2 separate regions of the Homo sapiens genome follow, and region 1 is linked to region 2. Evidence: promoter capture Hi-C in 16 types of primary human blood cells and fetal thymus (Javierre and others, 2016). All regions are on one chromosome and are shown on one strand. Each heading gives the region's core, a stretch centred on a gene start or on the middle of the fragment in contact. The rest is flanking DNA. Distances are from core to core; before and after follow the strand shown.

Region 1 (5,593 bases), core at 2,007-4,506, 340 kb before region 2:
GACCTTCTGAGGGCCCCAACTGAGCTCTGGCAACCATATGAGGCCAGTCATTTCCTCAGTGTTCAGATGAGGAAGAGGGGGGCTCTCAGAGGAAAGGGAATGATCCCCAGGTCACATGGTCAGTAGGCACTGGAGCTGGGACTGAAACCCAGGGAGACAGACGAGAGACGGGCCAGGGCTGCGAGGAGGCAGAGAGGCAAGGGCTTCGGCCTCCCCATTTCCAAGCTTGCATTCCCAGGAGTCCATTCATATGTGAAAAAAATGGCTTTTTATTTATTTATTTGTTTAGAGACAGTCTCGCTTTTTGCCCGGGCTGGAGTGCCGTGGTGTGATCATAACTCACTGTAGCCTTGACCTGGGCTCAAGTGATCCTCCCACCTCAGCCTCCTGAGTAGCTGGGACTATAAGTGTGCACCATCACACCCAGATAATTTTTTAAATTTTTGGTAGAGATGGGGTCTTTCTATGTTGCCCAGCCTGGTCTCCAACTTCTGGGCTCAAGTGATCCTCCCGCCTTGGCCTTCCAAAGTACTGAGATTACAAGCATGAGCCATTGCGCCTGGCTTATTTATTTATTTTTAGAGACAGGGTCTCGCTCTGTCACCCAGACTGGAGTGAAGTGGCACAATCATAGCTCAGCGCAGCCTCAAATTCCTGGGCTCAAGGGACCCTCCTGCCTCAGCCAACAAAGTAGCTGGAACTACAGGCATACACCACCATGCCTGGCTAAATTTTTTTAGAAATGGGGTCTTGACCAGCCCAGGCTGGTCTTGAACTCCTGGGCTCAAGTGATCCTCCGGTCTCAGCCTCCTGAGTAGCTGGGACTACAGGTGCACACCACCACACCCGGCTAATTTTTTTGTGTTTTTATTGTAGAGACAGGGTTTCACCATCTTGCCCAGGCTGCTCTCGAATGCCTGTCCTCATGTGATGCTCCCACCTGGGCCTCCCAAAGGGCTGAGATTACAGGTGTGAGCCACTGCACCCGGCCTGATAGCAGAACCTGCTTTTCTTCTACCAGCCTCTCTTGGACTGTGGAAAAACCTCACACCAACATCTCCTTGTCCAATCGCCTCTCTTGGACTGTGGAAAAACCTCACACCAACATCTCCTTGTCCAATCCAGAGGCTTCCATGGAATCACTCTCCACCCCAAGACCCCCCAACATCTCCTGTGTGCTCATTGAGTAACAGACCATCTGCTGCTTCCCCCGTCCCCAACCATCTCCCCAAGGTCCTGGGCATTGGTCCCCTGCTAAGGGGATCTGTCGGGACCTGCCTCCCAGAGTGAGGGTGGCGATTTCTGCATACATTTCCCCTATCTGTGGCTCCCTTTTCCTGGGTTATGGGCCCATCTTCCGTGCCTCCACACCCTTTCTTTCTACCTCCAGCTGTCCCTGGGCTCTTTGGGACCCTAACCACTGGCATCAATCAACCTTCTATGCCCAGTGTGGACATCAAGGACATCTCCCCAGCAAGCTCAGGCCTTCAGCCCAACATTCTCCTCCTTGCTGTGCTCAGCTCCATTGAATTCTCCATCCTCCACCCCACCCTGCAAATCTGTTTATCTTTGCTTTTCTGGTTTCTTTCATTTTCCTCTGCCTCACCCAGATTCCAGACAAATTCTTATTTATTTATTTATTTATTTGAGATACAGTTGCTGGCGGCTCACTGTAACCTCTGCCTCCCAGGTTCAAGTGATTCTCATGCCTCAGCCTCCGGAGTAGCTGGGATTTGCAGGCATGTGCCAGCACACGCAGCTAAAATTTTTTTTTTTTTTTTTTGAAATGGAGTCTCGCTTTGCTCGCTTTGTTGCCCAGGCTGGTGTGCAGTGGCATGATCTGGGCTCACTGCAACCTCCACCTCCTGGGTTCAAGCAATCCTCCCACCTCAGCCTCCCAAGTAACTGGGATTACAGGCCTGGGCTACCACATACGGGTAATTTTTATATTTTTAGTAGAGACGGGGTTTCAGCATGTTGGCCAGGCTGGTCTTGAACTCCTGACCTCAAGTGATCCATCTGCTTGGGCCTCCCAAAGTGCTGGGATTATAGGCGTGAGCCACAACACCCAGCTTGGATTATGGACAAATTCTTTTGAATGAGACTCTGTCCCCTGCCTCCAACTTTTCTGCATCCCAGCAGCTGGCATCATCCCATGTCCCAGAGACTTCACACATACCTAATGGGGCTCATCTCAACCCTCCTGTTCCTCAGCCTGATGCTGGGGAGGCCAGGCTCAGGGTCAGTGTGTTGGCCTGCAGCCCGATGTGTGCCCTCCTCCCTGGATCTCTTCCTTCTGGGTTGGGACGAAGGCGTGAAGGTGGTTTGGAGTCATGAGTTCAGGCTGAGACACCTCAGACCTACCTGACCTGCTGGGGGATTCACCCTGCCAGCCTCCGAGATGCAGTAGGATGAGAACACGCACTCTGGGGATAGGAGCCTGGATGTGTGTGTGTCTGGAGGTTGGCCATTCCCATCTTCCAGCGTGTCTCGTGTGACAGGGACCAGTGTGGAAGTGTCTCTGGGTTGGCCCTTAGGCATAGGCCAGTTTGAGAATAGGAGACAGGAGGTGAGAGGTCGCCATAGGTGGGGTTTGCAGAGGGTGGTATTAGAGCTTTGCTGTCTCTCTGATCTTTCTTGGCCCTATTTGGGGGTGACTTCCAGGATGACGCCCTTGCTCCTCCCCCACCCCCAACCCTGGCAGGTCTTCCCATGTGTCCTCTGTAGCAGTCTCAGCCACACCGTGCAGTGGACCACTGCATTGGAGGCATCCTACCTCTTCTTAAGGACATGGTCCCTTCAAGGACCCTGGATGCTGACCTGTCTCCTGTCCCACCTAGCCCACCTATAGCACCTGGCTCAGCAGAAGCTCATGGATGACCTTGAATGACCCCTTCCAGCACTGAGACTTGCTTTCTTCAAACTAGCATCCAGGTCTAGGATTACCCCACTCAGCAGCCTCAGATAACTAAAGGAGCATCTCTAACTGGTGAGGTCTAACCCAATCAAAAGTCTTTTTTTTTTTTTTTTTGAGACGGAGTCTCGCTCTGTTGCCCAGGCTGGAGTGCAGTGGTGCGATCTCGGCTCACTGCAAGCTCCGACTCCCAGGTTCACGCCATACTCCTGCCTCAGCCTACTGAGTAGCTGGGACTAGAGGCGCATGCCACCACACCCGGCTAATTTTTTGTATTTTTAGTAGAGACAGGGTTTCACCGTGTTAGCCAGGATGGTGTTAATCTCCTGACCTCGTGATCCGCCCGCCTCGGCCTCCCAAAGTGCTGGGATTACAGGCGTGAGCCACAGCACCCAGCCCAAAAGCCTTATAATAAATAATATTTAAGAGATGGGTGTTGCTCTGTCGCCAAGGCTGGAGTGCAGTGGCGTGATCATAGCTCACTGCAGCCTCGAAGTCCTGGGCTCAAGGGATCCTCCCACCTCAACCTCCCCGGTACCTGGGACTACAGGAATACACCACCACGCCTGGCTAATTTTTAATTTTTTTATAGAGACTGGGTCTCACTATGTTGCCCAGGCTGGTCTTGAACTCCTGGCCTCACAGGGATCCTCCTGCCTCTGCCTCCCAAAGTGCTGGAATTACAGGCATGAGTCACGGTGTCCCAGCCATTTTTTTTTTTTTTTTTTTTTTTTGAGACAGAGTCTCACGCTGTTGCCCAGGCTGGAGTGCAGTGGTGCCATCTTGGCTCACTGCAACCTCCCCCTCTCAGGTTCAAGTGATTCTCATGCCTCAGCCTCCCGAGTAGCTGAAATTACAGGCATGTGCTGCCATGCCCAGGTAATTTTTTGTAGTTTTAGTAGAGAAAGGGTTTCACTGTGTTGCCCAGGTTGGTCTCGAACTCCTGGCCTCAAGTGATCTGCCTGCCTTGGCCTCCCAAAATGCTGGAATTATAGGCATGAACCACCATGCCCTGTCCTCCTCCCCATTTTTTTTTTTTTTTTTTTTGAGACCGAGTCTCGCTCTGTCACCCAGGCTGGAGGGCAGCAGCACAATCTCAGCTTACTGCAACCTCTGCCTCCCCGGTTCAAGCAATTCTTCTGCCTCAGCCTCCTGAGTAGCTGGGACTACAGATGAGTGCTACCACGCCCAGCTAATTTTTTGTCCCCTTTTCTTTTGAAGAGGAAAAGCAATTCCTGGCCTCCCAGCCTGGGCCAGCCAAAATAGCTTAGGAAGAATGTGGGCAGGCCCAAGACCTCTCACCTCCCTCACCTCCACCTTCCGATCTTCACACTCGTACTGTTTTTTTTTTTTTAATTATTATTATTATTATTATTATTTTGAGACAGAGTTTTGCTCTTGTTGCCCAGGCTGGAATGTAATGGCACGATCTCTGGCTCACTGCAACCTCCGCCTCCCAGCTTCAGGCAATTCTGCCTCAGCCTCCTGAGTAGCTGGGATTACAAGCATGCACCACCACACCCGGCTAATTTTGTATTTTTAGTAGAAATGGGGTTTCTCCATGTTGGTCAGGCTGATCTCAAACTCCCAACCTCAGGTGATCTGCCTGCCTCGGCCTCCCAAAGTGCTGGGATTACAGGCGTGAGCCACCGCGCCAGGCCCTGTTTTCTTAAAATCATTGGTGAACATTCCACTTCTTGGAGACCCGCAATGTAAACTGGGCAAACAGAATGGCTTGTTTTCGTCTGTGCTGGGGCCTGAAATGAGTCAGTGACTAGATTTTAAGGCTGAGGAATTGCGTTTACTGGGTTCATGGACACGAACTCCTGTAGGGCCTAGATATTTATCAGCATGGCCAAGGCCTGGGGGACAGTTTCGAGTCTCAGCTCCAACACTTCCTGCATGCCAAAACTGCGTCAGCCTCTTTTTTTAAATAAACAAAAAACGTTTAGTCACAGAAATGTTCAAGAATATGCAAAAGTAGAGAAAATATAGTAATAAAATCCTGCTTCAGCAGTCATCAACATTTGGCTAATCTTGTTTTATCCATGTACCCTCAAATACTGTTCCGAACCCCAACTTTTTTTTTTCTTGTGACAGGGTCTCACTCTGTCATCCAGGCTGGAGTGCAGTGGCGAGATCCTGGCTCACTGCAACCGCCGCCTCCTGGGTTCAAGTGATTCTCATGCCTCAGCCTCCTGAGTAGCTGGGACTATGGGACTACAGGCACGTGCTACCATGCCTGGCTAATTTTTTGTACTTTTTAGTAGAGACGAGGTTTTGCCATGTTGCCCAGGCTGGTCTTGAACTCCTGAGCTCAGGCAACTTGCCTGCCTCGGCTTCCTAAAGTGCTGGGATTACAGGCTTGAGCCACTGTGCTCAGTCTTGATACTTTTCAATTTAAGGTAAAATACAGCATGATTTATTAGTTTTTTTTGTTTGTTTGTTTTTTGTTTTTTGAGACAGAGAGTCTAGCTCTGTCACCCAGGCTGGAGTGCAGTGGCACAATCTTGGCTCACTGCAACCTCCACCTCCTGAGTTCCAGTGACTGGCCTACTCAGTCTCCCAAGTAGTTGGGACTACAGGCACCTGTCACCACACCCGGCTAATTTTTTTGTATTTGTATTTTATTTTACTATTACTTTTTGAGGCAGAGTCTTGCTCTGTTACACAGGCTGG
Region 2 (6,294 bases), core at 3,416-5,915:
CCTGGCCCTGTCTTCCGTCCCATAGAGCTGAACTCAGCCAGGCCAGCCTCACTCTTACCTCTTTGAGAGCAGGTCACATCGCAACTTTAGATAAACCTGGAGCCTGGATGAGAGGGTAAAACACCACGACTCAGGCCATCTTCTACTGGCATCTCACCATTCCCCACCAGGGACCTCCATGTGGGGCTGTGTGGGTGTGGGCTGTACTCCCAAGAGGGAAAAGGGCTGAAGCCCAGCCCAACTCCATTAGCCAAAGCTTTTTCCTTTTTTTTTTTTTCAGAGAGATGGGGTCTCACTATGTTGCCCAGGCTGGTCTGGAACTCCTGGGCTCAAGTGATCCTCCCGCCTCAGCCTCCCAAAGTGCTAGGATTACAGGTGTGAGCCACCGGCCGCAACCCAAGCCTTTTTCCAATTTGCACTCCATCACCACTACCACCACCCCCACTCTGCAGTGAGTCTTGGGAACATACAGGTCTTGGCTTGGGTTCCAAGGTAGTTCTAGAACCCAGGAAATTGTCTCACCGGCCTGAGCCTCGGTCCCACTGCACAGAGGGGAAGAGCCGGAAGGGGAGCGGTGAGGGGAGGTCATCGGAGAGTTGGTACCGCATCACAGTCAGCTGAGAGACCAGAGAGCAACAAGGTTAGTTTGGTCTCACGACCCCACTGCCCCCTTCCCCATGGTGGACGGAATTTATGAGGCCACCCCAACCCTGACCTCGCCCTGAGGTGGTTGCAAGCGGAGGATTCGATGAGACTCAAATTCGTCCAGATTCACAGAGCTGTGAAACGAGACTTCATCGACCCGGATTCCTGGCCCATAACCTGGAAAGAGAGAGAGAGAGACTTCTCTCCTGACTCCTGTTTTGGGAGAGGAGCAAGGAGAGGGGAGGCTCTGTCTGACTTCTCTCCATGAACTCTGGCAATGACCTACTCCAAGGGGAGAAAGACCCACTTTCTCCTCACCTCTCAGCTCTGACTTCCCCACACAAAACTCTTCCGTCAAGCCAATGCGCATCTCTGTCGGAGGAGAGACCATCAGGAGAGCTCAGCAATGCCATGGTTTAAGACACCAAGGAACCCGCCCTAACCCCAACCCTTGGTCCTGCCTGCAGATGCCTCACCAGAGCCGCTAGGAAGGAAGCTCTTGAGCCGAATCTCTCCCTGCACATCCACCTTCAGCAGGGATCCCTGAGAGGCAGGGGCGTCAAGGTTAGAGTCTTTTTTTCTTTCTTTTTTTGAGACGGTCTCGCTCTGTCGCCCAGGCTGGCAGTGGCGTGATCTCGGCTCACTGCAACCTCCACCTCCCAGGTTCAAGACATTCTCCTGCCTCAGCCTCACAAGTAGCTAGGGTTACAGATGCCTGCCACCATAAGTAGCTAATTTTTGTATTTTTAGTAGAGATGGAGTTTCACTGTGTTGGCCAGGCTGGTCTCAAACTCCTGACCTTAAGTGATCCACCCACCTCGGCCTCTCAAAGTGCTGGGATTACAGGCATGAGCCACTGTGCCCAGCCTTTTTTACTTATTTATTTTTTTTAAGAGACAGGGTCTTGCTCTGTCATCCGGGCTAGCGTGCAGTGACTCGATCTTGGCTTACTGCAGCCTTAACCTCCTGGGCTCAAGTGATCCTCCTGGCTCAGCCTCCCAAGTAGCTGGGACAGCAGGTGTACACTACCATGTCTGGGTAATTTGTTTATTTGTATTTTTTGTAGAGACGGGGTCTGGCTATGTTGCCCAGGCTGGTTTCAAACTCCTGGCCCCAAGTAATTCTCCCACCTCGGCCTCCCAAAGCACTGGGATTACAAGCATGAGCCACTGTGCCCGGCCGTTGCTGGGAGTCTTAGCCACCCCACCATGTTTCCCAAGTCCCATCTGTCCTCAGCTCCAGGTTTGGGAGCTCAAACTTACATTAGATGCTATCAGTACAGACAATCTCTCGACCACATCCAAAAAAACTTCATTCTTTTGGCTCTGAGAAAGAGAGAGAATTTGGGTGGTTGGAAGCAGAATAGCCTATGTTCTGAAATGGACAGACAGGGAGAAAGAACAGGACAGTCAAAGCTACAGCTCTAGGGTGAGGACATGGGTGATGGAAGGGATCATCTCCCACCTCCACCCACATCTGGGGGGGTGGGAGATGTGCCAAGATCTTTTTCTTTTTTTTTTTTTTTTTTTGCATTTTTAGTAGAGACAGGTTTTCACCATGTTGGCCAGGCTGCTCTGAAACTCCTGGCATCAGGTGATCTGCCCACCTCGGCCTCCCAAAGTGCTGGGACTACAGGCGTGAGCCGCTGTGCCCGACCTAAGATCTTGGACTCCCGGATCCCAGAGCAAAACCAGAGCGTCTGACCCCATGGATCCTTCCCTCACCTGGTCAGAGCGACTGGACAGGACGGGGCGGCTGGCTGCACTGCTGGGGGCCACTTTGCTCTGTTGTGTCTCAGCCCCAAACTGTAAAGCATCCAAAGCAATCAATCATCAGGTCTGACAACCCCAGCCAACCCCTCTTCTCTTTCCTCACCCTCCTCTTTCCCTCTACTGACCAAGCCAACGCTGCTGAGGTCAAAGAGGCTGAAGGGCTTGCTGACCACAGCTTCCGTCTGGATGAAATTCCTCAGCATCTCCGTGGATGTGGTCTGTACATAGCCATAGTCCTAGTGGTAAAGGAAGGACAGTCTGAGTGATCAGTGGAGGGAAGGGGTAAAGAGGGGGAGTGGGGCCAGGCATGGTGACTCACTCCTGTACTCTCAGCGCTTTGGAAGGCCGAGACGTAGGAGAATGGCTTGAGGCCATGAGTTCAAGACCAGCCTGGGCAACACAGTGAGACTCTAGTCTCTACAAAAAATAAACAATTAGCTAGGCACAGGGGAGGCTGGGGCAGGAGGACGGCTTGAGCCCAGGAGTTCCAGGCTGCAGTGAGCTATAACTGCACCACTGCAGTCCAGCCTGGGCAACAGAGCAAGACCCTGTCTCTAAAAGCAAAAAAAAAAAAAAAAAAAAAGGTAGACTTGGCCTCCTAACCACGGCATCCCACAGTAGAAGAGCAGATGTATCTTCAGGGGAATTGGGTAGGGGCCACAGAAGGGGATTGTTGATTCTCACCAGCACTTCATCCAGGAGTTCGTATACCAGAGCCACATTGCGGGAGATGGTCCCCTCGCCCAGGGAGCCACAGTAATCGCCCAGAAGGGTGGCCAACCTGAGGAAACACTTGGAGCGTGTATTTTCTCCTCCTCTCAGACCCCTCCTAGCTACCAGGTGCCCAGCCCAACCCTCCTCACCTGGAGAGCAGTTCTAGGAGGCTGAAGGGAGAAACGTTTTCTGAAGTTGTGACCACCAAATAGAGGCCGCTGTGTCTGATGTGAATGAAATGACGGCCATGGTGATGCTGAGACACAGGCAGGGAGAAGAGAGGCGTTAAAAAAAGGGAGGTGGAGTGATCAGAACCCAGGAGACCTGAGCTCGGATCCCGATGCCTCTTACTAGTCACAACAGCAGTGCCTTTGGGAGATACATGACATATGCCTGGGCCCAGCTTCCCAATGTGGAAAGGGGGTTAATTACACTAACTACCCCGAGTTGCTGAGGATGGAGTCACGCAGGGAGCTGGGCCTGGTGTGTTGCTGGCGCCCATTGACTCTTTTTTTTTTTTTCCCCACCCCCACCTACCCCGAGAGGGAGTCTCGCTCTGTCTCCCAGGCTGGAGTGCGGTGTCCGGATCTCGGCTCACTGCAACCTCTGCCTCTTGGATTCAAGCGATTCTCAAGCCTCAGCTTCCCGAGTAGATGGGATTACAGGCGCCCGCCACCACGCCCAGCTATGTTTTTTTTTTTTTTGTATTTTTAGTAGAGGCGGAGTTTCACCATGTTGGCCAGGCTGATTTCGAACTCCTGACCTCAGGTGATCCGCCCGCCTCGGTCTCCCAAAGTGCTGGGATTACAGGCGTGAGCCACCGCGCCGGGCCTCACGTTAGCTTTATTTGGCGGAATGCACCCCCCAAGTGGAATCTACCAATGAACCAGTCCTGGGAGGGAGCTGGCGCCCACCCGGCCCGACGGGACCCCGCTCCTCACCCGCCTCCCGCCACTGGTTACCATGACAACCGGGGACTCGTCTCCTGGCAGTCCCGTCAGCTTCCGGTAGAAGAGCTCGGCCACATCCCGGCCGCCACTGTCCCCGCGGACTGGCGGGTGGAAGGACTCAGTGAAGGATCCTGCGACACAGGCTGGCCCTGGGCGCCCCTCCCGCCCGGCCCCTCCGCCCCTTCCCAGCCCCAAGGGTCTAGGATACAGTCTTTGTAGATGAGCGGGTCCCCCTTGGAGGACAGAATGAAGAATTGGGAAATCATGGCCGTTCTGGAGAGTAGACAAGAAGACGGCGAAAGTCGGGCCTGCCCCGCCCTGCGGCCCCGGAACAAAAGAACGCGTGTGCGCTGGCCCTTTAAGAGCGATTCTCCTCCGCCCGCGCCAGCTCGGACCGCGGGAAACCCGGCGCCTGCACTACCCCGCCCGGAGATTCCCTTCCGACGCCCGCACCGCCTCCCCGTCACTCATTCTAGGCCCGCACGGTGATTGGCTTGCGGCTAGCGGGAGGTGAAGAAGGCCGCCTTGTCCGATTGGCCCGCACGCAGTGGCGCCGGTCACGTGGGGGGCGACGTTTCGCGCCAATTTCGGTTGGCCGGCCACAGTCCACCGCGCGGAGATTCTCAGCTTCCCCAGGAGCAAGACCTCTGAGCCCGCCAAGCGCGGCCGCACGGCCCTCGGCAGCGATGGCACTGAAGGACTACGCGCTAGAGAAGGGTACGGGTCTACGAGCCCGGGAGGGCGTCCTGCGCGGGGAGCCTCCCGGGGAACACCTGTTGGTGTGAGCTGGGGTCTTGGGGGACCGGGGTCGGCGGGTTCTGGGGTGCGCGAGGCCAGAGGCAGGGTCGAGCTGCGGCCTGGCTAAGGCCCACGGGGCCTGGGAAGCGTGCGGGGGGCCATCGATGTTGAAGAAAAGCTAGTAATCCCACCTGGTAAAGGTGTTAGGGTCGTGGGGTTGGGGGCTTGGGGGCGCGCTAACCCGGCTGGGGGCTGCACAGGGAAAAGTCGCGCCCAGGACCTCAGGAGAGTCTTAAGGGCTCTGGGCTCCCGTGCCCGCTTTCCTTCGCGCTTTTGGGCATTCCCAGGTTCCCGCGCCCTCCCCAGGCGCGCGTAGGCCCCGGGGGCGGGCAGGCCGGGGCCGCTGCGCGCCGGGATTGGCCGTTTGAGGCCGCCCTCCGAGCGGAAGTGGAGCCGGGCGGAAGTGGCGCGAGGAGGCTGGAGGGAGTGTCGTGTAAACAGTGTCCTTCCGCGCGGCGGCCGCGGAGAGAGCTGCGGCCCGGGGGGGCGTGCCTGGGATCCGGAGCTTCGCTCGGGCCCGGGAAAGGCGGCAGTGGGCTGGGATCGCGGTGTCTCTGGGTGTGATGGCCAATGGCTGGACTGGCTCCCGCCCTGGGCGGAGGAATCCCGAGCTGTGAAGCGGCTGGAATCCGGGCCCATGTGCTTCTTTGTTTACTAAGAGCGGAAGCGATGGCGGGAGCGGGGGTGGGGTGCGGTGGCGGGGTGCGGTGGCGGAGGTCCCGGTGAAATCAGGGGCTAAGGGGACCCAAAGAAGGCGGGGGATCATAGGGGTGGAAAGAAAGCTGAGAACCTTGAGACCGGAGTGTGAGGGGCCAACGGGGAAGGGCGCTAGAATTTTAAACTAAAGTAGGGACCGGAATTCCCCTGGGGAGATGTTGGATGGCCCTGTGCACTGCCACGGGCTCTTTATTCTTCGCTGGTTAGAAACAGACTTGTGAAAAAGAGTTATGCCCACTTTGGGGAGACTTCGGTAGGTTTATTTAAATGCTCATATTATTAATTAGTTCATAGGTCGTGTTTTAAGCGAAAATGGGTATCTAAGATTTGTCTTAAAGTTTGTGTCTTACGGTTTTACATTTCATGTTACAGAAAAGGTTAAGAAGTTCTTACAAGAGTTCTACCAGGATGATGAACTCGGGAAGAAGCAGTTCAAGTATGGGAACCAGTTGGTAAGTCTAAGATTGGGTAAAGGGAATGGGGAGCGGGGTGCTTAAGGAGCCATAAGCAGCAGCTTGGCTTGTTTTATTAAAGACATAACAATTAGAGGGTTTGAGGGCTGAAAAGCGAGTATCGCTCTGTGTGGCGCTGCGTTCTCCCCTGTGGATGCCCAGAGCCTGTGCTGAGTTCTCAGTGATGCATTTTCACATATGAACACTGGTGAGCAAAGTGAATGTGGCTCTGAGGTGTTTCTGTCT

Evidence for each region. The method cuts DNA at HindIII sites, captures the fragments that hold promoters and counts their contacts. A CHiCAGO score of 5 or more calls a contact.
Region 1: a contact is called between a fragment that was not itself captured here and the fragment with the promoter of MCM7 in region 2, in 4 of 17 cell types (total B cells, naive B cells, naive CD8 T cells and 1 more). The highest score is 7.1, in total B cells.

Annotation. Positions count from the first base shown.
Region 1 is chr7:100,438,978-100,444,570 of GRCh38, reverse strand. It overlaps PPP1R35-AS1 (PPP1R35 antisense RNA 1), which reads right to left. Exons shown (of 3, transcript NR_187540.1): 3 at 4,694-4,837. Among named protein-coding and RNA genes, the nearest start is that of PPP1R35-AS1, 5.1 kb to the right of the region's middle. RefSeq lists enhancers at 1-53, 54-738 and a cis regulatory region at 1-253. The HindIII fragment of the contact is 6,057 bases long and covers 228-5,593 here.
Region 2 is chr7:100,099,768-100,106,061 of GRCh38, reverse strand. MCM7 (minichromosome maintenance complex component 7) reads left to right here and starts at 4,665. Exons shown (of 15, transcript NM_005916.5): 1 at 4,665-4,798; 2 at 5,969-6,048. The coding sequence starts at 4,768. AP4M1 (adaptor related protein complex 4 subunit mu 1) reads right to left here and starts at 4,419. Exons shown (of 15, transcript NM_004722.4): 1 at 4,290-4,419; 2 at 4,094-4,182; 3 at 3,281-3,387; 4 at 3,102-3,198; 5 at 2,543-2,653; 6 at 2,370-2,450; 7 at 1,908-1,970; 8 at 1,122-1,188; 9 at 964-1,017; 10 at 716-822; 11 at 523-617; 12 at 59-103. The coding sequence starts at 4,347. RefSeq lists enhancers at 4,341-4,390, 4,413-4,965, 5,311-5,470 and a silencer at 5,101-5,200. The HindIII fragment of the contact is 6,263 bases long and covers 259-6,294 here.